Linked DNA regions of Homo sapiens: regions 1, 2 and 3 are each linked to region 4. Evidence: promoter capture Hi-C in 16 types of primary human blood cells and fetal thymus (Javierre and others, 2016). All regions are on one chromosome and are shown on one strand. Each heading gives the region's core, a stretch centred on a gene start or on the middle of the fragment in contact. The rest is flanking DNA. Distances are from core to core; before and after follow the strand shown. Region 1 holds the start of LOC124905202 (a long non-coding RNA gene). Region 2 holds the start of UPRT (uracil phosphoribosyltransferase homolog). Region 3 holds the start of ABCB7 (ATP binding cassette subfamily B member 7). Region 4 holds the start of COX7B (cytochrome c oxidase subunit 7B).

Evidence for each region. Contacts are between HindIII fragments. The CHiCAGO score rates a contact against its expected background, and 5 or more counts as called.
Region 1: a contact is called between a fragment that was not itself captured here and the fragment with the promoter of COX7B in region 4, in 1 of 17 cell types (fetal thymus). The highest score is 6.4, in fetal thymus.
Region 2: the fragment with the promoter of UPRT here is called in contact with the fragment with the promoter of COX7B in region 4 in 3 of 17 cell types (fetal thymus, non-activated CD4 T cells and total CD4 T cells); the score reaches 12.0 in fetal thymus.
Region 3: the fragment with the promoter of ABCB7 here is called in contact with the fragment with the promoter of COX7B in region 4 in 1 of 17 cell types (fetal thymus); the score reaches 5.9 in fetal thymus.

What each region holds. Positions count from the first base shown.
Region 1 is chrX:80,803,270-80,809,015 of GRCh38, reverse strand. It overlaps BRWD3 (bromodomain and WD repeat domain containing 3), which reads left to right. Exons shown (of 41, transcript NM_153252.5): 3 at 1-3; 4 at 418-477. It overlaps LOC124905202 (a long non-coding RNA gene), which reads right to left and starts at 208. Exons shown (of 2, transcript XR_007068278.1): 1 at 1-208. The HindIII fragment of the contact is 1,589 bases long and covers 467-2,055 here.
Region 2 is chrX:75,272,361-75,278,730 of GRCh38, reverse strand. It overlaps UPRT (uracil phosphoribosyltransferase homolog), which reads right to left and starts at 4,646. Exons shown (of 7, transcript NM_145052.4): 1 at 4,091-4,646. The coding sequence starts at 4,476. LOC124905200 (a long non-coding RNA gene) reads left to right here and starts at 4,695. Exons shown (of 4, transcript XR_007068269.1): 1 at 4,695-5,253. RefSeq lists enhancers at 4,266-4,475, 4,636-4,685, 4,706-4,755. The HindIII fragment of the contact is 1,552 bases long and covers 3,555-5,106 here.
Region 3 is chrX:75,153,716-75,160,105 of GRCh38, reverse strand. ABCB7 (ATP binding cassette subfamily B member 7) reads left to right here and starts at 3,823. Exons shown (of 16, transcript NM_001271696.3): 1 at 3,823-4,001. The coding sequence starts at 3,834. It also overlaps a transcript of UPRT not described here. RefSeq lists an enhancer at 3,713-4,142. The HindIII fragment of the contact is 6,846 bases long and covers 1,287-6,390 here.
Region 4 is chrX:77,897,270-77,903,379 of GRCh38, reverse strand. It overlaps COX7B (cytochrome c oxidase subunit 7B), which reads right to left and starts at 3,912. Exons shown (of 3, transcript NM_001866.3): 1 at 3,787-3,912; 2 at 613-737. The coding sequence starts at 3,826. RefSeq lists an enhancer at 3,709-3,958. The HindIII fragment of the contact is 2,290 bases long and covers 1,908-4,197 here.

The DNA.
Region 1 (5,746 bases), core at 12-2,511, 2.9 Mb before region 4:
CAGGTACGGAGCCCCTTCGGGAAGGGTGGGGAGGGTTGAGGTGAGACTGGAGGAAGGGGAGGGCAAGTCAGGGGCGGAAGACGGGCTGGGATAGAGGCTTCGATCTGGGTACCCGTAGCTGTTGTCACCGGGGTGAATTGGCTTCTTCCCTCAAAAGGGGCAGACAACGCTGGGGTCTTAACTCGTCCCCGCTTTATGCTTGTGGGAGGCAGTTTTTCAGGATTTCCTTCTCGACCCCCCTTCCCCCCCCCCCCCATATACTTGTCTAGCTCTGAGCCAATAGCTATCAGGCCGAGAGAAATAAAGACGGTAAAGTGTTGAGGACTGGGACACAGGTTGGGTCCAGTTGATGGGGAGCGGAGGCTTTTCCTTCATCATTTGCCTCCGCTTCCCCCTTTCTTTTCGTCCGGCCCCCAGCTGATTCCGCGCCGCTTAGATTGGGAGGGGAAAGAGCACCGAAGAAGCTTCGAGGATCTGGTGAGTAAAGTTTTCATTTCAACTTAACCTAACTCTTTCACCACTCCCTCCCCACCTTGTACCCCCAACCCGCCCCCCACCTCTCAGCCGACGAGGTTCTAGAGCTCGGTGCAGAGCCAAAGAACGACTGCCCCTTCCCCCATCCCTGCTAGTCGGAAAAAGGGTACCTTGCCCTCCCCTTGGCCCTGCTTGTTTCCACCCGAAAACTTTGAAGAATGTGAGTTGATTATCAGAGGTGCCGTGTTGTGGATTATGAATATGTTACAAACATTGGGGAAGGCCCATTGTAGGCGGAAAAGGGAGAGAAACCAAGGGGTTATCTTGGGGCACGTACTAAGGTCTGACGCTGGCCAATGACAGCGTTGGTAACAGCCCGGAGTTCCGGATTAGTGGAAGAAAACTGGTTTCTGGTTGGTCCTGGCCTGAAATACGGGAACTAAGGCCAGGCTTGGTCTTTTTTGGGGGGGGCGGGGGGGCAGGGGGGAGGCGTGGGAGGAAGGGGCTCTGGAGGGGAATTGACGGACCAGGGATTAGGAAAAACGACATAATTAAAAATAATAAGGAGCGTCAAGCCAATTTCAAATTTTGCCGGTTAGGTAATGGTCTACTGAGTAAAAGCATAATCGTTACGTATCTCCGATTTTATAAGCTCATTCAATTATCAGTTAAGTCGCATTTGCATAGACCCGTTTTCACTAAATAGAAACTGAGTTATCACTTTTTGAGAATTGGTGAAACACGATTTTGGGTTTACAAGGAGACAACAATGGACATATTTAAAAATGGAATATACTTTAGTGAAGGACCAAAGGCATTGGTCTATGTTGTTTCTCCTGCAAATATAATTCATAGTATAAATGTACCTTGTGTTCAGCATTGACACACAAAAACAGGTGATCCTTTTTATTTTGCGGGGGAGGTTCCCTTGTGTTAGCTGCTGCCACAGTGCATTGGAGGGTAGTGAAAGGAGAAAGGAATGATGTTACTAAAATCTAAATTCAGCTATCTTTCCTTCAAGTAAGATCCAAGTGGAGGAAAATCGGACAAAGTTAAAGAAAGTTGGCGGTGTATGATAGACTCTAAATATAAATGATTTAAAATTTGCTTGCAATAAGACTATATTTAAATTGCTTCAATGTTCATTTTGTTATTTTTGTTTGTGTTATCTTACAACAGTGAGGCCACATTATTATTATCAAGTCTACCGACTGTATAGTTTTCTTATATTTTGCAAATCACAGAAAATGGTATAATTGTGATAAGGGTAAACTCGACCATCTGTATTATTAATAGTAACAATTTCTCAGATGGAGAAAAATTAGTTTTGAAAAACTTCATGTACTGCCAGGTTAATTTGTAGTCAGTCTTTCTGTTGGACTTAAGTCTTTCCCTCCCCCTAAAAGAGGCAAAAACAACAGTGCCTACTAATATGTTTTAACACTTAATGACTGATACAGGTTTTTATATATAGTTTTAATACTGAGGTGTATTGAAAATGTTTTCCTTTACATTTGTCCTTCTCACAGCCTATATGTGTTATTTTAAGCAAGTGGCAAAGGAGATTAAAAGGAAAAAGCTTTTTTGAAACTAACTTGACAGTGATAAAAAGGAAATGAAAATCAAAGTAATTAAAAAATAGTCTCCTCACCAAAAAAACCCCAACAACCCAGTTTACTAGACTTTTCCTCATATTGTAAAGACATTTTTACATAATTGTGATCAGTGTCCATTTTATGCTTCATATTTTTCTTAACATTTAAAAATGTACTTGTGTATTTGAATAGTCATCATTATTTTAATGGTAAGAAAAAATTCAGTTGTATTTAAGGTACGATATGATTTGAACCAAGCTTCCAGTTGAGCATTTGAGCTACTTCCAGATTTTTACTAATAACTTTGCATAGTTAGGTGGTCTTTTTCTGCTTTTTACTTTCTCCCCTATCCCTTCTGCCCCCAGTTATTTTCCTGGACTTTATTCCCTAAAGTGGAGTTACCAGGTCAAAGGGTCTCATGAGTTTTATAGCTCTTGTCATATATTGTTTGCTCTCCAGAAGATTGTACTAATTTATAATGTCATCATCTAGGTATTTAGAGTGAGTTTTTTAATAGCTTTAAATCATTCAGTTTCTTTAATATTTAATAGATGGCAATAGCTCCTGGTTGACTTAAGTAGCTCTTTTTTTTTCATTACTAGTGAGGCTTAACCTTTAAGGAATTAAATAAAATTGTTAATTCTTACATATACTCAATTTTAACGTATCTTTTAAATATTCTTTTCTGTTTTTATATTTTCTATTTTTTTTACGTACACAGAGTTTGTTCTGTTGTTTGAACATTATAGTTTAGATACCATGGTTTTCTTTTACATGTCTGTTCTCTACCTATGGACTTCTTTGTAAGAGAAGATGGGCAGGGTTGAGTGATAATTTGAACAGAAGTGTAGTGGCTGAGAAGTGAATGTGCAGTGTTGGTTTGATTGCTAAGTTTGTCAGTAATATTTTTGATTAAAATTATTTCACATATGACCTGATTTTGAGTGGCTGCATTGTAGAAGAGATGGGATACTTTTTCTTGGGGTAGGTGTTTTTGTTTTTTTCTTTTTTTTGAGAGGGAGTCTCGCTCTATTGCCAGGCTGGAGTGCAGTGGCGGGATCTCGGCTCACTGCAACCTCCGCCTCCCAGGTTCAAGCGATTCTCCTGCTTCAGCCTCCCAAGTAGCTGGGACTACAGGCACGCGCCACCACGCCCAGCTAATTTTTGTATTTTTTAGTAGAGACGGGGTTTCGCCATGTTGGCCAGGATGGTCTCGATTTCTTGACCTCGTGATTCGTAAACCTCAGCCTCCCAAAGTGCTGGGATTACAGGCATGAGCCACCGCGCCCGGCCTGGGGTAGGTATTTTTTAAATTGTTATTGGAATGATAGATTTATAAAGTGTGGTCTTTGATTTAGCTGCATGTTTTGGATTGAAATTTAGGGCAAAGTATTAATAGTATCATCTTGATTTACCTGGAATATTACATTATATAGCAGCATTACAAACTTAAGGTGTATTGGGGTATGAAAAGGAAAGAGTACAAATGTACAATGAAGTGTTAACTAGGATATCAACATAGTAAATAGGGGTTGCATGGCCACGTATACTGCATATATGAGACAAAAATCCTGCCTTTTTGTTCATATGTATACTTTCATTTGAACTGATTGTCATTAATGCTTAATTTATCAGAATAATATTAAGGTAATGATAAATTGAATTTCTTCAACATTTCATTACTACTGTTAGTAGTAGTAATGAAATCCTTACCTTCTGTTTTCTGAAACAATCATCTGATTCAGTGTTTATACTAAATTACATATTCTAGAAATCCTTGCCTTCTGTTTTCTGAAACGGTCATCTGATTTAGTGTTTAGTGTTTTACTTGTAATTTTGAACACAAGGGAAGGTGCTTTTTTATTAAAGCTGCTTGCAGTTAAGTATTGACGTATCCTGATCTGAAATGTCATTTAAAAAAGAATCTGTACATGATGAAGCATTTTGGTCAGTTTATGTTGAACTGTAAGATTTTTGAATATGGCATTTAAAATATAACACTCTAAATTTTCCAGAATTTTAAGTAATGATAGAGGGAAAATTTTGAAGTTGTGATTGTTTCTGAATTTTCATCTGGGCACTTTATTTTCTGCTTCCTAGTTGGCTGTTACTGACCACATAATAGAATAAGATTTGCTTCTTGCAATTCATCTTAAGGTAGATAATTTAAATAATACAGATGTCCTTTCATTTGTGGTGACCCTATTGAGTTGTTGGCTAATTTATTGCTTCCTCCTTGGAGCTTTACTGGGGACAACAGAGTAATCAAGGTTGTGTGTGTTTAAATGAACAGTTCTTGTTAATCTATAAGTTTTATATATTGAAATGGTGATTTGGAAACTTTTTAAAAACCACATTTTAAGATTTTTAAATCATTTTTAGGAGTCTCGTATCATAAGACTGAACCAGGGCCTGGTGTGGTGGCTCATGCCTGTAATCCCAGCACTTTGAGAGACTGAGGCAGGCGGATCACTTGAGGTCAGGAGTTCAAGACCAGCCTGGCCAACATGGCAAAAGCCCTTTTCTACTAAAAATACAAACATTAGCCGGGTGTGGTAGCTCATGCCTGTAATTCCAGCTACTCAGGAGGCTGAGGCATGAGAATTGCTTGAGCCCTGGAAGCAGAGGTTGCAGTGAGCTGGAATCGCACCACTGCACTTCAGCCTGGGTGACTGAGACTCTGTCTCAAAAAAAAAAAAAAAGACTGAACCAAAGTTATAAATGTGTTTAGGTGTGGTATATAGTTTTACATTTATTTCGCATTTTCATCTCTAAAACTGAAAGCACCAGTTAGCGCTTACATTTGGAATGACATAGATTGTATTACCCTCATTTTATATGCAAAATACTAGAAGTAATTTTATGTTTTTTATGAAAAACTTTTATAAAGATTGTTTGTTATTGTCCTTAAAAAATATACATACATCTATGATTATATGTTGTTATAAGAAGTTGCATCTGCATATAACACATTCAAGTTTAAAAGTGTTTTCACATTATCTCATTTGATCCTCACCAAGTACTTTAAAACACTGTATTTAAATTCCAGACATACCTGTATTCTTTTCTTAACCAGCTGTTGTTCTCCAATTACTAATAATAGCTTAAATTGTCAATTAGAATAGCAGAATGATCTTTGAGTGCTGGTAGCATAGTTATTGCATCTCTAAGTGTGGAAGCAGTTTAAGCATGTTTGATTTATTAACTGCCATGTGGACATAGCCATAGTTAGGAAGAACAGGATGCATCATGGGATATCAAAAAGCATGCTCTGCTCAACCCCAGTGCAGTGTATTGTGCATATAATGCTAACTGATAGGTATTATGACAGAGAGAGGTCAATATCTGGAAATCGGTATTCCTGACTACTCCTGACTACTGACTTGCTTGAGCCACCACGCGCTCTCTGAAATATATTGGCTTTAGCGATTTGTCTAGATTGATCCTTGGCATTTTTTTTTCCACAGATGGGCTCTAAGGAACGTACTTTCAATGATTTAAAATCCTTTTGGAGATTTATCATTAATCTTAGGATAACTGGTATCTCAGTACAAATGAGATACTGTGAAAGTGAAGAGAGCTGGTGTTAGGGACTAATACTTTGGATTCAGTGAACTTGCCTTAATGAAATTTTGTCCTGAGCATCTTTGTCACATTTGAATATTAGTTTTAGTTCC
Region 2 (6,370 bases), core at 3,397-5,896, 2.6 Mb after region 4:
CCACCTAGGACAAATACACAGGAAGCATTCAACAGCTCACACAACAGCTTTAATGTTTCAGGAAACAAAAAATAAAAAACAAAAAACTGGACAGGGAGGATGATCTTTTAAATACACTGCATTGCCTTTAAATATGAGGTCATGAACTATATTCACAGGAAAAGCACATTACTCAGATTTTGCTGAGTTTAGTATATAAAGGAGGCAGAAGAGAAGGATGTGTGGTTTAATCCATTGCAACAACAACAAAACGACATAAATGAAGAAATTTTTTCTTATCCCAAGTTCACCAGCAACCCACATACGTATGGCTGAGCAAATAATCTACTCAGTGTTTACTGCACTTTCAAAGAGAGAAATTTATTTCCTTGAAATTCAATAATACAACCAACATATTATGTTTCAAATATTGCACATTTCAAAATCTAAAAAGACATTTTAAATCAATACAGACAATGTTCTCAATCTTGCCTGTTTCACATATATACAACAACATGCAGTCCTGCTGGCTCAATCCCGATTTCCCCATACCAAAGTCAATTCACAAAGCAATCCCTTCACTATATAGATGCTAAGGACCAGAAACAATAAAAGAAAAAATATGTACTCCAGTGGCTTCTATTATCGGACAGTTCCACAGTGCACATTTATGCTGTCACATCAAAATAGAGAAGAGAATAAGCCCCAAAGAGAACAGGGTATGATAACTGATGGCACCTTCCATAACTAGACCTATGTAAATATAGCTCCTCTTACCATAGGCACCTTAAACCAGCCTCCTAGAGGGGCTAAAACAGGTCTTGTGAGAGAGGATGACAATTTTTTAAAGATAAAGGGAATATAAAGCCTCTAATTTGGTTAACAAAAACAAAACTAAAAACAATGTCCCCAGCCTAAATAAGCAGCAATACATTACTAAAAATTGTGGTGGGTCTTTCCATACTATATCAAAACAAGATAAAAATTATCTACAATATCCCAGTATTCATTTTCAAGATAAAAAAGTGAATTCCACATAGAGTTAAATTCATTTTACTGTCTTCTGACAAATCAAGAAGACAGCACTTATGAATGCAATTAGAAGCATGCACAAATCCAAACATGAGGCTTGAAATTCCTTAAATGTGAACAGCTCTTCACAGTTCATAATGAATATTCATGAACAGTATCTTGTTTTAGCCTCCCAGGGGCTCCATGTGATATTTACCAACATCTTCATTTTACAAATGATAAAGGTGAAGCACAGAGATGCTAAACATATTGCCTAAATCACTTCTCTGGATCCTGCTGTCTCCTTCCAAACTTAGAGGAAAAAAAAAAAAGGATTCCACTTACACCCAGGTTTACTACATAACCCAGGTTTTTCTGACTAATGACATATAATCAGGTATTATTTTGTCATATGTGAATGCTAAATGCCATTCCCTCTCCAAGCGCTATAGCAAGGGCACTTCACCTTTACATTATCATGACACTTTGTGAAATCTAAAAAACTAAGGAATCCTCACCCTCTAAAAAAAAAGGCACATATGTGAATGTTCATAGCAGCATTATTCATAATAGCCAAAGAGTGGTAAACCACCCAAATGTTCACCAACTGATGGATAAACAAATTGTGGTATATTCATATAATGGAGTATCATTTAATCATAAAAAGGAAAGATCCCACACGGATGAACCTTGAAAACATGCTAAATGAAATGAGTCACAAAATGACCACATATTGTATGATAATGAAATGTCCAGAATAGACATTTTTTATATGTAATGTGCAGAATGGGCAAACCATTAGAAATAGAAAGTAGATTAATGATTGTCTAGGGCTTTGGGTGGGTTGGGTGAAAATGGGGAGTGACTGTTTAATGGGCATGAGGTTTCTTGCTGGGGTGATGACAAATGTTCTAAAACTGTGGTGATGAATGCACAGCTGTGAACATACTTAAAACCACTGAATTATACACTTTAAATTCTTGAACTGTATGGTCTGTGAATTATATCTCAATAAAGATGTTATTTAAAAACAACTATTAAAAATCTTCATATGAGTAAAATTTCCCAGTTAATTTATGAGGGTTTGTTAAAGCCCTGAACCCATCTACTGGTACGAGGGAGTCGAAGACCCAAGCGTAGTAACTTCTGCTCTATAGAAACAAGAATCATCATCTATTTTTCTTTGTTGTATATGTAAGATTTATTTTGGCTGCCCCTACCCTACCACAACTACAGCAAACCTATGCCTCCTATTTTTTAGGATCACTATTTTGTCTATTAGATAACATAACCACAGTAGTTTTCAATATTGATTCATTAAAAAGAGTAAAATAGTATAGTTTCATAAATATAATTTTAAGAGCTACAAAAAAACTCTAGTAATTGAGCATCTATTATTTGCAAGGCATGGCCGGCATTCAAAAATGTAAAAGATTTCTGCCTTCAAGATGTCATAGGCAGGATAAGATCTATACAAAAATAACAATATACGAAAAAGAAGGTGAATCTTGCATTAAAAAGACCAGGGAAGATAAGCCAGGAATAATGATTAAAGGGAAGCTTCTTGGCAGAGGTGGACAATTATTTAATGCTGTGTTTCACCCTGAAGAATAAGTATCCTGAACGTACATAAAGGAGACACAGGGAATTCCAGATGAGAGCAGAAACAGATATGTTTCAGAATTGTTCCTAGGAACTATGAAGAAGGGCCTTCATCCCAAGCTAAGGGGGCCAGGCATGGTGGCTCACACCTGTAATCCCAACATTTTAGGAGGCCGAGGCACGAGGATTGCTTGAGGCCAGGAGTTCAAGACCATCGTGGACAATATAGCAAGACCTCCATCTCTACAAAAAAATAAAAAATTAGCCGGGGGGCAGTGCCATGTCCCTGTAGTCCCAGCTACTCAGGAGGCTAAGGCAGGAGGATTACTTGAGCCCAGAAGTATGAGGGTACAGTAAGCTGTGATCTCACCACTGCACTCCAGCCTGGGTGACAGAGAAAGATCCTGTCTCAAAAATATCAATCAAGCTAAGGATCCTGGACTTTATTTGGTAGGCTCTGAGAAGCCAAAGAAGGTTGCTGAGTAGGGCAATTACTGAATCAAAGATGTATGTTATGAAGATTGATTGTACAGTAATGTATGGGTGCATGTGGAAGAGAGGAAAAACTGCAAGCAGAGAAACAGTATTATTACAATAGTGTAAGACAAGGTTTCTAGAGTCTGGTTTAGGGAGTGGCATCTGTCATTCAGTAGCCATTTTTAAAAGATCAAGGCATGTCCCCCCAACCCCTGCCACTAAAAAAGGGGTGTTTTGATATGCTGCTCATTTAAAGTGCTGCCAATAAAGAAAATAGCTGTAGTTCATCATGGTACATATTTCCCTGGAGAAAACCCATTTACAACGTAGGTTTAGAAATTTCAAAATTACATTTTAACATGAAGTTCTGGCTACATTGGTTTGTGGGATTAGGAAGGGCCAAAGGCTCCTTTAGGCTCCCTTTGATCCATTAACTATGTTCTGTGAGTTTACAGTGAAAAATGATAAGAGTTGGACGATAAGCTTTCATGTGATCAAGTAAACCTGAACTCCAAGACTAAAAGACCTTGTTTGCAGTAGCAAATACTAAAGGGTCAGGGCCTGAATAGAATTTCCTTGAAATTGCTTTATTTCTATTTATGAACCTGAGGTGATTGGTGGTAGTGCATAACCTTGGATAGTAACCATTTCTGGGTTATAGGTTTACCATGTGGACAAGCACTGCCCACATAGTATAGGGGAGTTTACCTGCCTGGAATGGCCAAGGAGTTGTCTTTCCTGGGAGAGACAAAGAGCCCAGAGGCTACCTAAAGTCTTCCTCCCCACCCAAAGTGATGTTAGACACCGGAACTTGGAAAGAGAAGGTTGGCGTTCGAGTTACACGACACACACACACACACACACACACACACACACACACACACACCAAATAAAAGGTCTTACCCCAATCTCCAAAGTTTGCCAAGGCCAAGAACACTGTCTCTTAGCCCTTTTACTTCCAATCCCCGCCCACAGCCTGCAAGACCCTCCACTTCCCTTTCCCCTTCCGCTCTTGGCTTACTTGTCACGGATGATGGTCTGTAGCTCCCGTATCTGATCATTCATAGGCAGCAGCTTAAGCTGCGCCCCGATCTGCCGGGAGAGTTCGCAGTCCTCTAGGAAGGAGTTGCCAGCTGGTGCGTCATAGCTGCTACTGTCACCACTACCACTGTTGCCCTCTGAGTTGAGGCTGGAGCCGCCGCAGGCCCCAGAGTCCAGCTCGGCCGGCAGGCTAGAATGGGCGTACCCCGTGAGGAGAATCACCTTGGCCCTGGAGGCTCTGTTTCCCCCTGCGTGGTCCAGGATCAGATCGCCAGGTCGCAGCTGCTCGGGACTTGGGGTTGAGGCAGAGTTTACTTGCTGGTTGTGACAGGGCATGGAGTCCGGACACTGTAACTCCGTGGCCATACACCGGGCCCCGGGCTATCCCCGCTGCTACTGAACACTAAAGATAAAGAGGAACGGGTAGAAAGGACAGATGCTCACGTGCTCTCTCGGTTGCTCCCGCCTCCTCAGAACATCTAACCCTGGCTGTCCTTTCACCCCTAGGCCGCTGTTGGTTTCCTTTAGCACACTTTGGCTCACTCCCGCCCACACCAGACGTACTGCCTGCCTAGACACCCTATTGGCTGCACTCCCCGCCACTCTGCGGCGCCACTGCTTGTTAACCCTTTGAGTCACCCTTGCTACGTGGGTTCCCACAGGTAGCTAAGCCCCCGCAGCGAGGCCAAGGATGCCAGCTTGAAGGATCTTCCGGGGGCCCCTGGGGCTTCTGCATTCAGAACTTTGGGTGATTAGTAGAGCCAGGAAAAACTGGGGGTGGCAGGTGATGATACACAGTTACACACGTAAGGCCCATGTTTTCAGACTTTGTGACCTAGCAGAGAAATTATATCTCAGTAACCGCATCTTCAGTTAGCTTGTCTGCATAACAGAAGGAAGAAGTAAAAAAATGCCTAGCAGGCTGCTGAAGAGGCTGTCCTCTACTAGACTGTTCTAGAAACTGCAGCTTCCCAAGTATGCTTGACCGCCAAAGCTTTTCTTATCTTTATTGGTTGGGCCCCACAGTGTACACGTTGTCATGGGGACTCAGGCGGCATTTCAGATCCACTATCATTTTGAATCTTTAAAGTACTTGGAAAGACGCTTATTTTTAAGTGTATGGACTCACTATAACGGCCTGAGGTAAGAGTGTCTAGGGCAGTACTTTTCAAACATCAGTATGTACCACAATAATTGTAGAGCTTGTTAAAATGCAGGTTCTTACGGCTCATTTTTGAGATTGTGATTCTGTAGATCCGAGATGGGATACAAGAATCTTTTTTTTTTTTTAACTTTTAAGTTCAGGGATATATGTGCAGGTTTGTTACATAGGTTAACTTCTGTCATGGGGGCTTGTTGTAAAGATTATTTCATCGCCCAGGTATTAAGCCTAGTACCCACTAGTTGTCTTTCCTGATCCTCTCCCTTCTCACACCATGCACTCTGCAGTAGGCTCCAGTGTGTGTTGTTCCCCACTATGTGTCCATGTGTTCTCATCATTTAGCTCCCACTTATAAGTGAGAACATGCAGCATTTGGTTTTCTGTTCTTGTGTTAGTTTGCTAAGGATAATAGGCTCCAGCTCCATCCATGTCCCTGCAAAGGACATGATCTCATTATTTTTTATGGTTGCATAGTATTCCATGGTGTATATGTACCACATTTTCTTTATCCATTCTATCATTAATGGGTAGTTAGGTTGATTCCATGTCTTTGTTATTGTAAATAGTGCTGGAGTTAACATATGTGTGCATGTGTCTTTAATAAAACAATAATTTATGTTCCTTTGGGTATATACCCAGTAATGGGATTGCTGAGTTGAATGGTATTTCTGTCCTTCCTTTTTTTAACATGCCTATACAGATTTTTTTATAATTTTTTTTTTATTTCCATAGGTTATTGGGGAACAGGTGCTGTTTGGTTAGATGAGTAAGTTCTTTAGTGGTGATTTGAGAGATTTTGGTGCATCCATCACTCGAGCAGTATACACTGTACCCTATTTGTAGTCTTTTATCTCTCAAGCCCTTCCCACCCTTTTCCTCCAAGACCCCAAAGTTCATTGTATCATTCATATGCCTTTGTATCCATCATAGCTAAGCTCCCACTTATGAGTGAGAACATACAATGTTTGGTTTTCCATTCCTGAGTTACTTCACTTAGAATATTAGTCTCCAATCTCATCCAGGTCGCTGCAAAAGCCATTAATTCATTCCTTTTTATGGCTGAGTAGTATTCCATATATATATACATATATATATATA
Region 3 (6,390 bases), core at 2,574-5,073, 2.7 Mb after region 4:
GATCTTCAACTAAGTCATTATTTTTAAGATCTAAGGCAGGCTGGGCATAGAGGTTCACGCCTGTAATCCCAGCACTTTGGGAGGCCGAGGCAGGTGGATCACGAGGTCAGGAGATCAAGACAATCCTCGGTGAAACCCCGTCTCTACTAAAAATACAAAAAATTAGCCGGGCGTGGTGGCATGCACCTGTAGTCCCAGCTACTCAGGAGGCTGAGGCAGGAGAATCGCTTGAACCCGGGAGGCGAAAGTTGCAGTGAGCTGAGATTGTGCCACTGCACTCCAGCCTGAGCAACTGAGTGAGACTCCATCTCAAAAAAAAAAAAAAAAAAAAAAAATTTAAGGCAAGTATCATAAAATCTTAAGCTATGACTAAGCTGGGTTGTAGGTACATGGTGATTACGTTTTTCTTTGTAATTTTCAGTTATGATTCAATATTTCCAAATGTTAAAAGTACATGGAAAATAAGTTAGTTTCAGAAAGTGATACGTGCTCTAAAAGTGCCTCTCAGACTTGAATGTGCATATGAACAACCTGAGGCATTCTAATTAAAATTCGGATTTTGAATATTTAAGTCTGGCATCGGGCTTGAGATTCTGCATTTCTTTTTTTATTGCTATGTAATAGCTGTACATATTGTTGAAGTACATGTGATATTTTGATACATGATGCATATGATATCATAAACAATATATACAACAAGGTAATAATCAAATAAAGAAACATTTAGCTTTTCTTTATGTTGGGAACATTCTCTTTCTTCCAAATGTGGTGTACATACACAATAAAATATTGTTCAGCCATAAAACAATGAAATCCTGTCATTTGCAGCAACATTGATGGAACTGAAGGTCATCATGCTAAGTGAAATAAGCCAGGTACAAAAAGACAAATACCACATGTTCTCACTCATATGTGGGAGCTAAAAAAGTATATCTCATGAAGGTAGAGGGTAGAATAGTGGTTATCAGAAGGTAAGAAGAGCAGAAGGGAGGGGACAATGAAAAGAGGTTGGTCAATGGGTACAAAAATGTAGTTAGAAGGAGTAATATCTAGTGTTCTATAGTACAGTAGGGCAGGTGACTATAGTTAACAACAACTTACTGTATAGTTCAAAATAGCTAAAAAAGATTCTGCAGTTCTAACAACCTCTCAAGTAATGCCAATGCTAGTGGTCCATGGATCACATTGGAATAGCAAGATTTTAAGGGAAATAACACAAGGCAATGGTGATACAGAGTGGTGGGGACAGGGGGTGGCCTCTTCAGATAAGGTTCTCTTGGAAAGCTTCTCTAAGCAGGTGACATTTGTTTTGAGACCTGAAAGATAAGAAAAAGTCATTTAAAAATCTACAGGAAAGATATTCCTGGTAGAGGGGAAAGCAAGTGGAAAGGTCCTGAGGTGAGAATAAGTTCTGGTATTTTTTAGAAACAGAAGACCACTGTGGCCTTCTTAAATTGCTCAAGTGTTTCTTCCACATTTCAGGTGTTATTAAGTGAAAAGAGCACTATGTTTGGAGTCATAAAACCTAGGTTTGGTCTCCATCCCATTAGCTCTGTGGCCTCTGACCTAGTCACAACTTTTCTTAGCCTCAGTTTCCTCATAAATATGGGCATATTAATAAATAATACCTATCTTCCATGGTCGATGTGAGGACTAAATGAAATAAGGTATGACAAAGCGGATTGTAAGTTACAAAATACTATACACATTTAATTATTGCATACATAAAGTGCTATCATGTGATCTGTGGTTGTAGCAGCTATTTATAGCAGCTTTTATTGTGTATACCTCTGTCTCTTTAATTTATGTCAGACAGTTATGTGTCAAGTTATTACAGGCTGAGTTGGCCTTTTTGTTGCTGCTCTTCCCCAGCAGTGTGCAACTCTTATTATGCCTCACGTTCTATTTCTGGGTGCCCTGGAAATTTTCTTCGGCTTATTTGGCAAATAAATATTTGCCTCACTTTAGCTCATCATAGAGTAACAACTTGGGTATTTCAATGTTATTCACACTTTTTGATCAAAACAGTTGGCTTACAATGAGCACTACTTTTGGAAAAAAATAATTTGGCTCCATTCAAAGACTTTACAACTGGGTGGTAAGATTCAGTGGCAATATTCAGCCCTAAGAGAAATCATTAGTAGAGTCTAGAGTTTCTCTAATGTATACTGTAGCTGTCTAACACAGAATAGATGCTGAATAAATATTTGTTGATGACAATATAGTCATTAATATGAAGCCATTACTGATCTACTGTCAACAATACAATAATAAGCTAGAAACATCCAATTAGTCACTAAGTCTTGCCAATTCCATCTCCTAATTGCCCTGCAATCGATCTACTGCCACTGCTACTGCTAGGTTGAGGCCTTTATTTTATGACTGAACTATTGCATTAACTTCATGACTTCAATATGAACTCCGTCCAATCCAACCTTCTCACTTAAGCCAGAGTAGCTTAATGGACATATAAATCTGATCATGTTACTCTCCTGATTAAAACTCTTCACTGGTTATAGGATAAAGTATTAACTTCTTAGAATGAAATAGAAGGCCCTTTACCATCAGGTCTCTGTTCACTCAGGTTAACCTCCTACTACTTTCCCAAACTCCATAGACTCCTGAACCTGAAAATATTTTCTTATGCCTTCTTGCTTTTAACATGTCATCTTCTTTACGTGTAATTCCAGTCAACCTCTTCAACTTGAATTCTATTTTTCTTTAAATAACTAGCTCAAGCATCCCCTTGAATGAATCCCAGAACAAAAAAGCTAACTGCATGGGCTACAGATTTCTGTTTTTCTTTATCAGACTTACTAGTCCAAAGTACCTCTTCATAAGAAGTCCATAATTATTTGTCTCTTTTGTGTGAAAAGTTGGAGAATGCAGCAGTGAATATAAAATTGCAACTGCATTATTGTCTCCGGGGTTTCAGGTAACATTTACAACTGGAAATGCAGTTTCCTAGATAACTGTAAACATATTTTGACATTTTGTTTGATAATAGTGGTGACAAAAGAATATAAGCCTGTCTTTAAACATGGTCTTCTCTCCATACATTTCACTTTACCACCCTTCAGCCAACCTAAGCGATTTTTCAAGAATTAGGGACGCTGCAAAAACCAAAGCGAAGAGCTAGAAAGAGTGACAAAATTAGTAAAGATGTCTGTAGTCTCTCTGTGTGTGTGTGTGTGTGTGTGTGTGTGAGACTGTCCCACGAGCAACAGACCAAAGGAAAACTGCCCCAAGGTTTGCGCAACAGAGAACAATCAGCAAAGTTAAAGTCCTTACAGGACAGAAAAGCAGTAAATCTTACAGCTGAAGCCTCCTCCCAGGGGAAATTAACGTCTGTAGTTTAATCTTTCCTTAATTCAGAAGGGAGTGAAGATAAGAATATGCATAGGGAAAATGGAGAGAGGGGAGCGTGACATTGAGTTGGAGGAGGTAAGAGAGTATTATGAGAGACAAGATGGGGTTGACAGATTTAGCAGATACAATATTTGGGACACACGCACGAAGAGATGATTCGTTGTTTATGTAAAATTGAAACTTAACTAGGTAGGCATCCTGTATTTCATCTGGCAACTCCAGGAAAAGAGAAAAATACAGTGTTACTCCAATATTCCCGGTTGTGTAAGGAAAACAATCAAAGCTCGGCCCTAAGGAAAAACAAATAAAAGAGGCTGTGCGAATGCATCCGAATCTTCAAACAGAATCCATTTCCGGTCTGGGGCCCTGGGAAAACAAGAAGAGGAGAGACAATTAAGGTAGCCGAATTCAGTCCGCCAGTGTCCCATAATCCTCTTCTCTCGGTTCCTCTTTCCTCGCTCAAGATGGCGCTGCTCGCGATGCATTCTTGGCGCTGGGCGGCCGCGGCGGCTGCTTTCGAAAAGCGCCGGCACTCCGCGATTCTGATCCGGCCTTTAGTCTCTGTTAGCGGCTCAGGTCCGCAGTGGAGGCCACATCAACTCGGCGCCTTGGGAACCGCTCGAGCCTACCAGGTGAGATGCCACTGACATGGAAGAATAGGGTGAAGGGCAAGGGGACCTGTAGGGAAAAGGTTGCCCTCCTGACCTCGGGGCAGAGAGAGCACCAAGAAGAAAGTCATGGCTAACTGGGAGCAGCAGTAAGTGAAGGAAATTAACGTCAGTAATTTGAGGAAAGGGCGAAGAAGAAAACCTTTGAGTTCAGCAAAGGGAAACGGGGCAGGAGGTTCTGGGCAGAGGACACCTGGAGCGCTGGAGGCTCTCGGAGTCATAGTTTTTCTCTCATATTAAGAGTTGGGGTAGACACCATTCCCAGCCTGCTTGCCTTTCTAAAGACGAGGAAGACTGGATTATTTTCCCCAATTAGTAATGGAATTTGGGACAGTTTATCTGTGGTTCAGATTTTACTCAGTTGGAATTAGCAATTCGGAGAGCACTGTAATGACAGCAAGCTATCTATAAACAGGTGGCGCCAGTTAACTCCCTTGCTGACAGGCGTGCTTCTTGATAGGCCAAAACCGTAACTATCTTTCCAAAACATAGACCGCCCTAAATTCTTGTATAAATATGACTGTCCTAGATCTGAAAAATACAGTGATGTTCTCTGTGCACAGGTCATTTTGGAAGCCATAGGCTACTTATCCTTAACTTATGAATGTAGCTATGGTTGTAGTGCCTCCTAAAATTTGAGTCCATTATTACCTCTCACTCAGGAACGGTTTTTTAAAAAATTATTTGTACTTAACTGTACTAAAGTATATCTTTTTATTTTCTGTGTATTGACAAGAGGTTTAATTGCCACCACGTATTTATCACTATCACTTTAAAATATTGTCAGTTTTGTATGAGAAACAACCTCTTAAATTTTGATTCTTCATCTACAAATATTTAACGTCTACCTTGTACATAGCCCTGTGCTAGATGATAGGGTACTAAGAGAGACATACAGTTATGCCTTCAAGGATTGTACAGTTTAGTTAAGGAGATTGGATCTATGCATTACAAAAATAACTGAAAAACACAGTGGTGGGTTAATTAGCAAATGAATAGTATGTACAATAAAGGCTATAGGCATCCAGAGGAAATAGTGATAATTAAGGACCAGGTTATAAAGAGTATTTCATGCTGGTGATAGAACTGGGGAGAATGTTCTGAACAGGGAGAATAGGGAATGACACTAAGCATGTGGAAGGCTGATGGAATGACATTTATAATTCATTCAGTAATTATTGAACACCTCTACAGGAGCAAACAAAATATAAGTCCTGTCTTTAAAGAGCTTAAAATCTAGTGGGAAATATGTAAATTAATCGGCAATTAAAATATAGTGGAGCTGTGTAATAATGGGAAAGGTACAAGGTATGGGACAGTATATGTGAGGGGTATTAAGTCTAATTGTAAGGTAGTGAAGATTGCCTTAAGTAACTGATATCTAAGGCAAGAGCTGAAAAATTAGAAGTTAGCCAGTTAAAGAAGGAATCGCATGTGCAAAGGCCCACAAGTCAGAGAGAACATGGACCTTTTCTAGAACTGCACGTAGTTTAGACTGTAGTGAGTCATTCAAGATAGGAAATAGCAGATTAGGCTAACGAAGCGAATCTAGATGATTTCATTAAGGTTTTTAAAGTATTTTATGGTTGAAAGTTTCTAACACATGATCTCTTGGGAATGGTTTTTGTTCTGTAGTTCTCCAATAAGGCAGATGAAGTTAAGATAAAATTTGTAAATGTTATCTTAGATAAAATTAGATATCTTAAGATAAAATTTCTTAAGCTGGAAGAATGAGGGGGAAGAGGGAAAAGGAGAAGTTATTAGGAATCTCAGAGGAGGCAATGGCAATACAAATTTAGCTTTCTCTCTTTCCATGAACGCTATCTCCACAACTTCCTTCTTCCACTCTGTCCTTTACATCCTACCATTTCCTTTAGTTACCATTTCCTCAGTGTGCAAAACAAGGGAAAGATGTTACCTTTGTTTTCTGTTTCTTAAAGGCATGGAACTCTTGCCATCCTTTTTTTAAAACAGGGTGAGAAAGGAATGATTACAAAGTTTTCAAAGTAGAAGCTGAGGTAACCTGAGGTACCTGCAAATTTGTGACTTGTGATTAAGATTACAAAATAATTACTGAATTCATACTTTTAGGACGATCATTAGTATATAGCATAATATTTTAGAGCTGAAAGGAACCTTAGAGCAGTGTTATGAAATAATGTTAGTGGGTTGGATTAGCACTTTTTTAGATGAAATTCAGTAGAATATAAAGAAAATAGCAGTGCTTTTTACATCTTAAGTGAAGTATTGTTTCATGAACTTTTATGTGTATATACACACACACATATATATTTTATATATATATATACACACACACACACGCACACACACACACACACAGTCCCACATGTAT
Region 4 (6,110 bases), core at 2,663-5,162:
TCTACTAAAAATACAAAAATCTGCCAGGCGTACTGGAGGGCGCCTGTAATCCCGCTACCTGGGAGGCTGAGACAGGAGAATCACTTGAACCCAGGAGGCAGAGGTTGCAGTGAGCCGAGATCGCGCCACTGCACTCCAGCCTGGGCAACAGAGCAAGACTCCGTCTCAAAAAAAAAAAAAAAAAAAAATAGCCAGGCCTGGTGGCACACACCTGTGGTCCCAGCTACTTGGGAGCCTGAGGCAGAAGAAGTGCTTGAACCCAGGAGGCAGAGGTTGCAGTGAGCCAAGATCGCACCACTGCACTCCAGCCTGGGGGACACAGCAAGACTTCTTCTTAAAAAAAAAAAAAAACAAAAACAAAAAAAACAGCTACACAAGATGGAAAGGGCTGCCTTGTGATCCAGTAAGCAATTTATTACTGGGAATGTTAAGAACAGAAGATGGATGAATGCTGGGGGGAAAAAATCCCCTGCACTGTGTGGGTAATTAGATTACACAATCTCTCAAGTCCCTCCTAACTAGATATGTACACTACTATGTTAAGACACTTTGAATGCATAGACTGAGAATGAAAAACATCTGAAACAGAAATTATTAATCAATAGTACTTACATATGTCCATGTAACAATACAGAAAGTGGCTCCACTAGCTAATACAGCATTACCGTATTTGTCATGAAAATCAGGTGTACGTTTCTGGTGGCTCTGCCTTGCCATTGTTTGCTGAATGCTTCGAACTTACAGGAAAACGAAAAAAGAATACAGAAGCATATTATCAATTGTCAGGTAAAGAAAACATATGTGATTGATACTGCCAATCAGGAAAGCCAAGGAAGTTAATTTTACAGTATTATGTAGTTCAATAAAATGTTAAAACATATTGTAGCTATTAAAGCAGTGTACTTTGAAATGCAACAAAAATAAGATGAATTGACAGATGGACAAATACATGATAAAACAAATAGCAAAATGTTAACTGTAGAATCTTTGTGGTGGGTATATGGGTGTTCATACGATTCTTCCAACTCTTCAGTATGTCTGAGAGTTTTCATAATAGTGTTGGGGGAAAAAAGCAAAGAATGAATGATGTCAGTAACATTCTCTACAAAGTGGTATTTGCATAACCCCTGAAATTTTGGCTCCCATTGATTAATTTGAATACTTATGACTTAAATTTTCATTAAAGTTTACTCAATAGAGCCCAACAACTTACAACATACAAGGGCAAATGAACTCAAATGAACTTCAAATTAAAGCACACTAAATGCTTATGACTGTAAAATTACTACAGTAACAAAAAAACTCGCCACAACTAGAGTAATCTTGATTTTTAAAAAATTAATGGGCCAGGCACAGTGGCTCACATCTGTAATCCCAATACTTTCGGAGGCCAAGGTAGGAGGATCGCTTGAGGCCAGGAGTTTCAGACCAGTCTGTGAAACATAGTGAGACCCTGTCTCTACAAAAAAATTGAAAATTAAAAATTAGCCGGGCATGGTGGTGCATGCACACCTGTAGTCCCAGCTACTCAGGAGGCTGTGGCCGGACGATCACTTGAGTCCAGGAGTTAGAGGATGCAGTGAGCTATGATCACACCACTACACTCCAGCCTGGGTAACAGAGCAATTCTCTGTCCCTAAAAATAAAAAATGAGAAATGGGGTATATAAAAAAGTATAAGACAGAGATCCTGTCCTCAAGTAACTTCCAGTCTAGAGGATTACACATGTAGATAAAAATCAGTATCGTACAAGGAAGCAGAATTAGCTAAGGACTTAGTTTTTGAGCAGAATGATAAAGTTTGCTGTTAGTATTATACCAGTAGAAAGAGAAGAACAAAAGTTTTCAAACGGCCCCTGGAAGAACTAAAAAGGAGGGCTTGGGAAACAGCCGAGACTGGAAAAAGCTTGTTTCTAGCTGTTTTTTTTTTTCTTCCTGTCCAATTTAAGGGGCAGGTTCTTATCGTTTTAAAGAGCCTCCAAAGGTACTTACATATATAATGAAAAGCTAGGGAGCCTGAGGCAGGAGAATCACTTGAACCTAGGAGACGGAGATTGCAGTGAACCAAGATTGAGCCACTGCACTCCAGCCTGGGCAACAAGAGCGAAACTTTGTCTCAAAAAAAAAAAAAAGAAACTGCAATGTTGCCCATTCACTAGCAATGAATATTTCTACATGGTACAATGGGTTACTTCATGATAGTTATTAGACCATTATCAGATCTTCTAACTGTCTTACATAGCTTTCCCTTTTCATCTTTTAGTCACACCGGGATAGGCAAATTTACAAATATTTCATAATATATTCTGCTCCAGAAAAGATAAAAAGTGGGCATGTGAATTCCACGCTGAAAAAAAAACAAAAAACCTTTCCTGAGGTACAAGGTGGCCCTATTTGCTCAAAGAGCAAAGAAATTAAGACTACCAAAAAATTCTGCAACATCTCATAACTTCAACACACTCATGTAACTCTGGTGGATTTCATCAGACCTCTCCTCTGTGACAACTGTTTAATTACCACACATTGGTGATCTCATATAATCCTCAACAACCCCATGAAGTAGGCATTATTTACAAATTACTTATTTTACAAAGAAGGAAACTGAGGTTGAGAGAGGCTAAATCATATGCCCAAAGTAAAAGAGATAATAAATGCTACTTTGGGAATATGAAAATAGTCCAGCTAATATTTTGTGGTTATTTTCAAAGTTGCTTAAGAGTTTAGGACACAATCTAATAATATCCTCCAATGATTCTATTAAGTGAAAATCAAAAGATGGCTAAACAAACTAAATAGTAATTACGGGTCACCTTCATTGTGTAACAACTGCCCACGTTACTCAAGGTCACCTTCGGTGCAAATCAAGTATGAAAATTAATTTGTTCTCCTCAATCTATTGCATTTTCTCTACATAATGCTGGTCTCAAAACTCCCTGTACCTGCCCAACCTTTGGATAAGAAAAAAATGACCACGATTGCCTTCAGGACAGCTAACATTGTTTTGTTTTTGTTTTCGAGACGGAGTCCCGCTCTTGTTGCCCAGGCTGGAGTGCAGTAGCAGTCTTGGCTCACTGCAACCTCCGCCTCCCGGGTACAAGCGATTCTCTTGCCTCAGCCTCCCAAGTAGCTGGGATTACAGGCGCCCACCACCACGCCCGGCTAATTTTTGTATTTTTAGTAGGGACGGCGTTTCACTATGTTGGCCAGGCTGGTCTCGAACTCCTGACCTCAGGGGATCCGCCCGCCTTGGCCTCCCAAAGTGCTGGGATTACAAGTGTGAGCCACCGCGCCTGGCCAGCTAACATTGTTAATCCACAAATAACTTCAAAGCTGCATCGATACCATTTGGGTTGTTTCCCTGCAATTAAACCAGGTGAAGAGCTAGATTTACAGTTTCCGTCTATTACAGTAATAGGAATTGGAGAAGATATTTTTCTATACAGGGTTAGGAGTAAACATATCCCCAAAGCTAAAATGTAGGACATCACTTAAGGAACGAGGTGTCTACCAAGAATGTCCTTCCCTGAAATCAAAGGTTACTGAAGAATTAAAAAGCAGGGCTAGACTATCACTCCGATAACAGAAAGAGAGCTGGAAACCGAAACAGAAATACTGGGTGATAAAGCCAATGCTAAGGACATCATCCCAATGACTTGGGACGAGATGGGAGACAGACAGCATTCAAGATTAGAAGGCCGAGATGTTCGTAAAAGGAAAGCACACGAGAGGCCGCGAGGACACATTGATATAAGGTTGTTGTAAATGATTTGTCATAATTTTTGCTCACCTTGGAGACGATTTAGTGCGCTTTTGACCAAGGGAAACATCGTGAAGGTGAAGCTAGAACTGCGGCAATACAGCTGCTGCTTTGGTGCCAATTCGCTTCAGGTACCCTTGAAGTGAGCTGAAAAACAAAATGGCTTTCAGCCGGGATCCGTAATGAGATTTGACGAAATCTCGCGATACCTGTAAAACCTATAGTAATTGCAATCCCTTTTCCCGCGAGGAAAAATAAAGGCCTTTTGGGAAATGTAGTTTCCGGCTTTATAAAATGACGTATGGTGGGTGGTATCTAATGAAGAATGAAAGAACTCCTTGAAGCCAGGTTTAGAGCTCTATAGAGGGCAGCCGAGAGACAGATCTTCGACCGAATCGTCTAAGGAACTAGCTTCAAAATGGCGTTCAAGTTCCACAAGCTTCGGTTTAGTATCTCCACACTAGCTCTTTCTTCTTTCTGTTCCCCCAAAACTTCCTTTACTTCTCTCATTTTTTTTGTCTGCTATTACTACTATACTAATTGGCTTAGCTTTTAGTTTTCAAATAACGTCAAGTTTAGAGAAAAGTTGCAAGAACAGTAAAAACTTCTGTAATATGTAGATAAATACGTGATAAAATAACTTTGGAAAGCTATTGGCCGGGCGCGGTGGCTCACGCCTGTAATCCCAGCACTTTGAGAGGCCAAGGTGGGCGGATCACGAGGTCGGAGTTCGAGACCAGCCTGGCCAAGATGGTGAAACCCCGTCTCTACTAAAAATACAAAAATTAGCCGGCGTGGTGGCGCGCGCCTGTCATCCCAGCTACTCAGGAGGCTGAGGCAGAATAATCACTTGAACCCGGGAGGCGGAGGTTGCAGTGAGCCGAGAACGTGCCACTGGACTCCAGCCTGGGCGACAGAGCGAGACTACGTCTCAAAAAGAAAGAAAGAAAAGAAAGCTGTTAGGCCTGGCGCGGTGGCTCACGCCTGTAATCCCAGCACTTTGGGAGGCCGAGGTGGGCGGATCACGAGGTCAGGAGATCGAGACCATCCTGGCCAACATGGTGAAACCCCATCTCTACTAAAAATACCAACAATTAGCTGGGCGTGGTGGCATGTGCCTGTAATCCCAGCTACTCTGTAGACTGAGGCGGCAGAATCGCTTGAACCAGGGAGTCGGAGGTTGCAGTGAGCCAAGATACCACCACTGCACTCCAGCCTGGTGACAGAGCAAGACTCCGTCTCAAAAAAAAAAAAGAAAAGAAAAGAAAAGAAAAAAAAGAAAGAAAAGAAATGGCAACACGGCAAAACCCCGTCTCTACTAATATACAAAAAATTAGCTGGGCATGGTGGCACATGCTTCTAATCCCAGCTACTCGGGAGGCTGAGGCATGAGACTTGCTTGAACCGGGGAGGCGGAGGTTACAGTGAGCCAAGATCGCACCACTGCACTCTAGCCTGAGACCTGTCCCAAAACAAAAAAAATAAAATACATACAGTTCAGTGGCATTAATGGCATTCACATTGTTGTGCAACTATCACCATTATTCATCTCTAAGACTTTTTCATCGTGTAAAACTAAATGCTTTGATTATACATTTTGACTATTGAAAATATTAACATTATTCCAAAAGTCAAAACTAAACAGACTAGTGTACTTAGAGAAGTGTCATTCCCTCCCCTAACTGTTGCATTCCATTTCCACCAATTCCTATAGGTAACCGATTTCATTACTTTCTGGTTTATCTTGTGTGTTTCCTTTTGCAAAAATAGGCAAATACCTGTATGTTTTCTTATTTCTCTATTTTATACAAATGTAGCATAAAAATCCATTATCATTTTACATAAGTCTTCCTCATTCCTTTTTTACAGCTGCAAAATCTGTGGTGTATATGTGCTATAGTATATTCAGTCAATCTCCTATGTTGGAATATTTAGGTAGTTTCAAGAATATTTCAATTTCAATAATGCTGAAATGAATAACTTTGTGCACACATATTTTCATATTGCTGGATGTCTCTCTCCAAGGTAGGTTACTAGAAGTGGGATTGCTGGATTAAAGGATAAATATATGTGTAGTTTTTTTAGATATTGCCAAATTATAGATGTTGTAACGTTTTGCCTTCCCACCAGCAACGTATTAATATAAAGGGTGCCTGACTCCCCACAGCCTTGCTAATAGCATGTAGTGTCAAGCTTTTGGATTTTTGCCAATATGATAGGTAAGATATCCCTTTTAAACTTTAAAATTTTTATTTTTAAAACATACACATAGTAAAATTCACTTTTTGGTGTACAGTTCTATGCGTTTTGACAAATGCATACAATTGTGTCACCACCACCACAATTAAGGACAG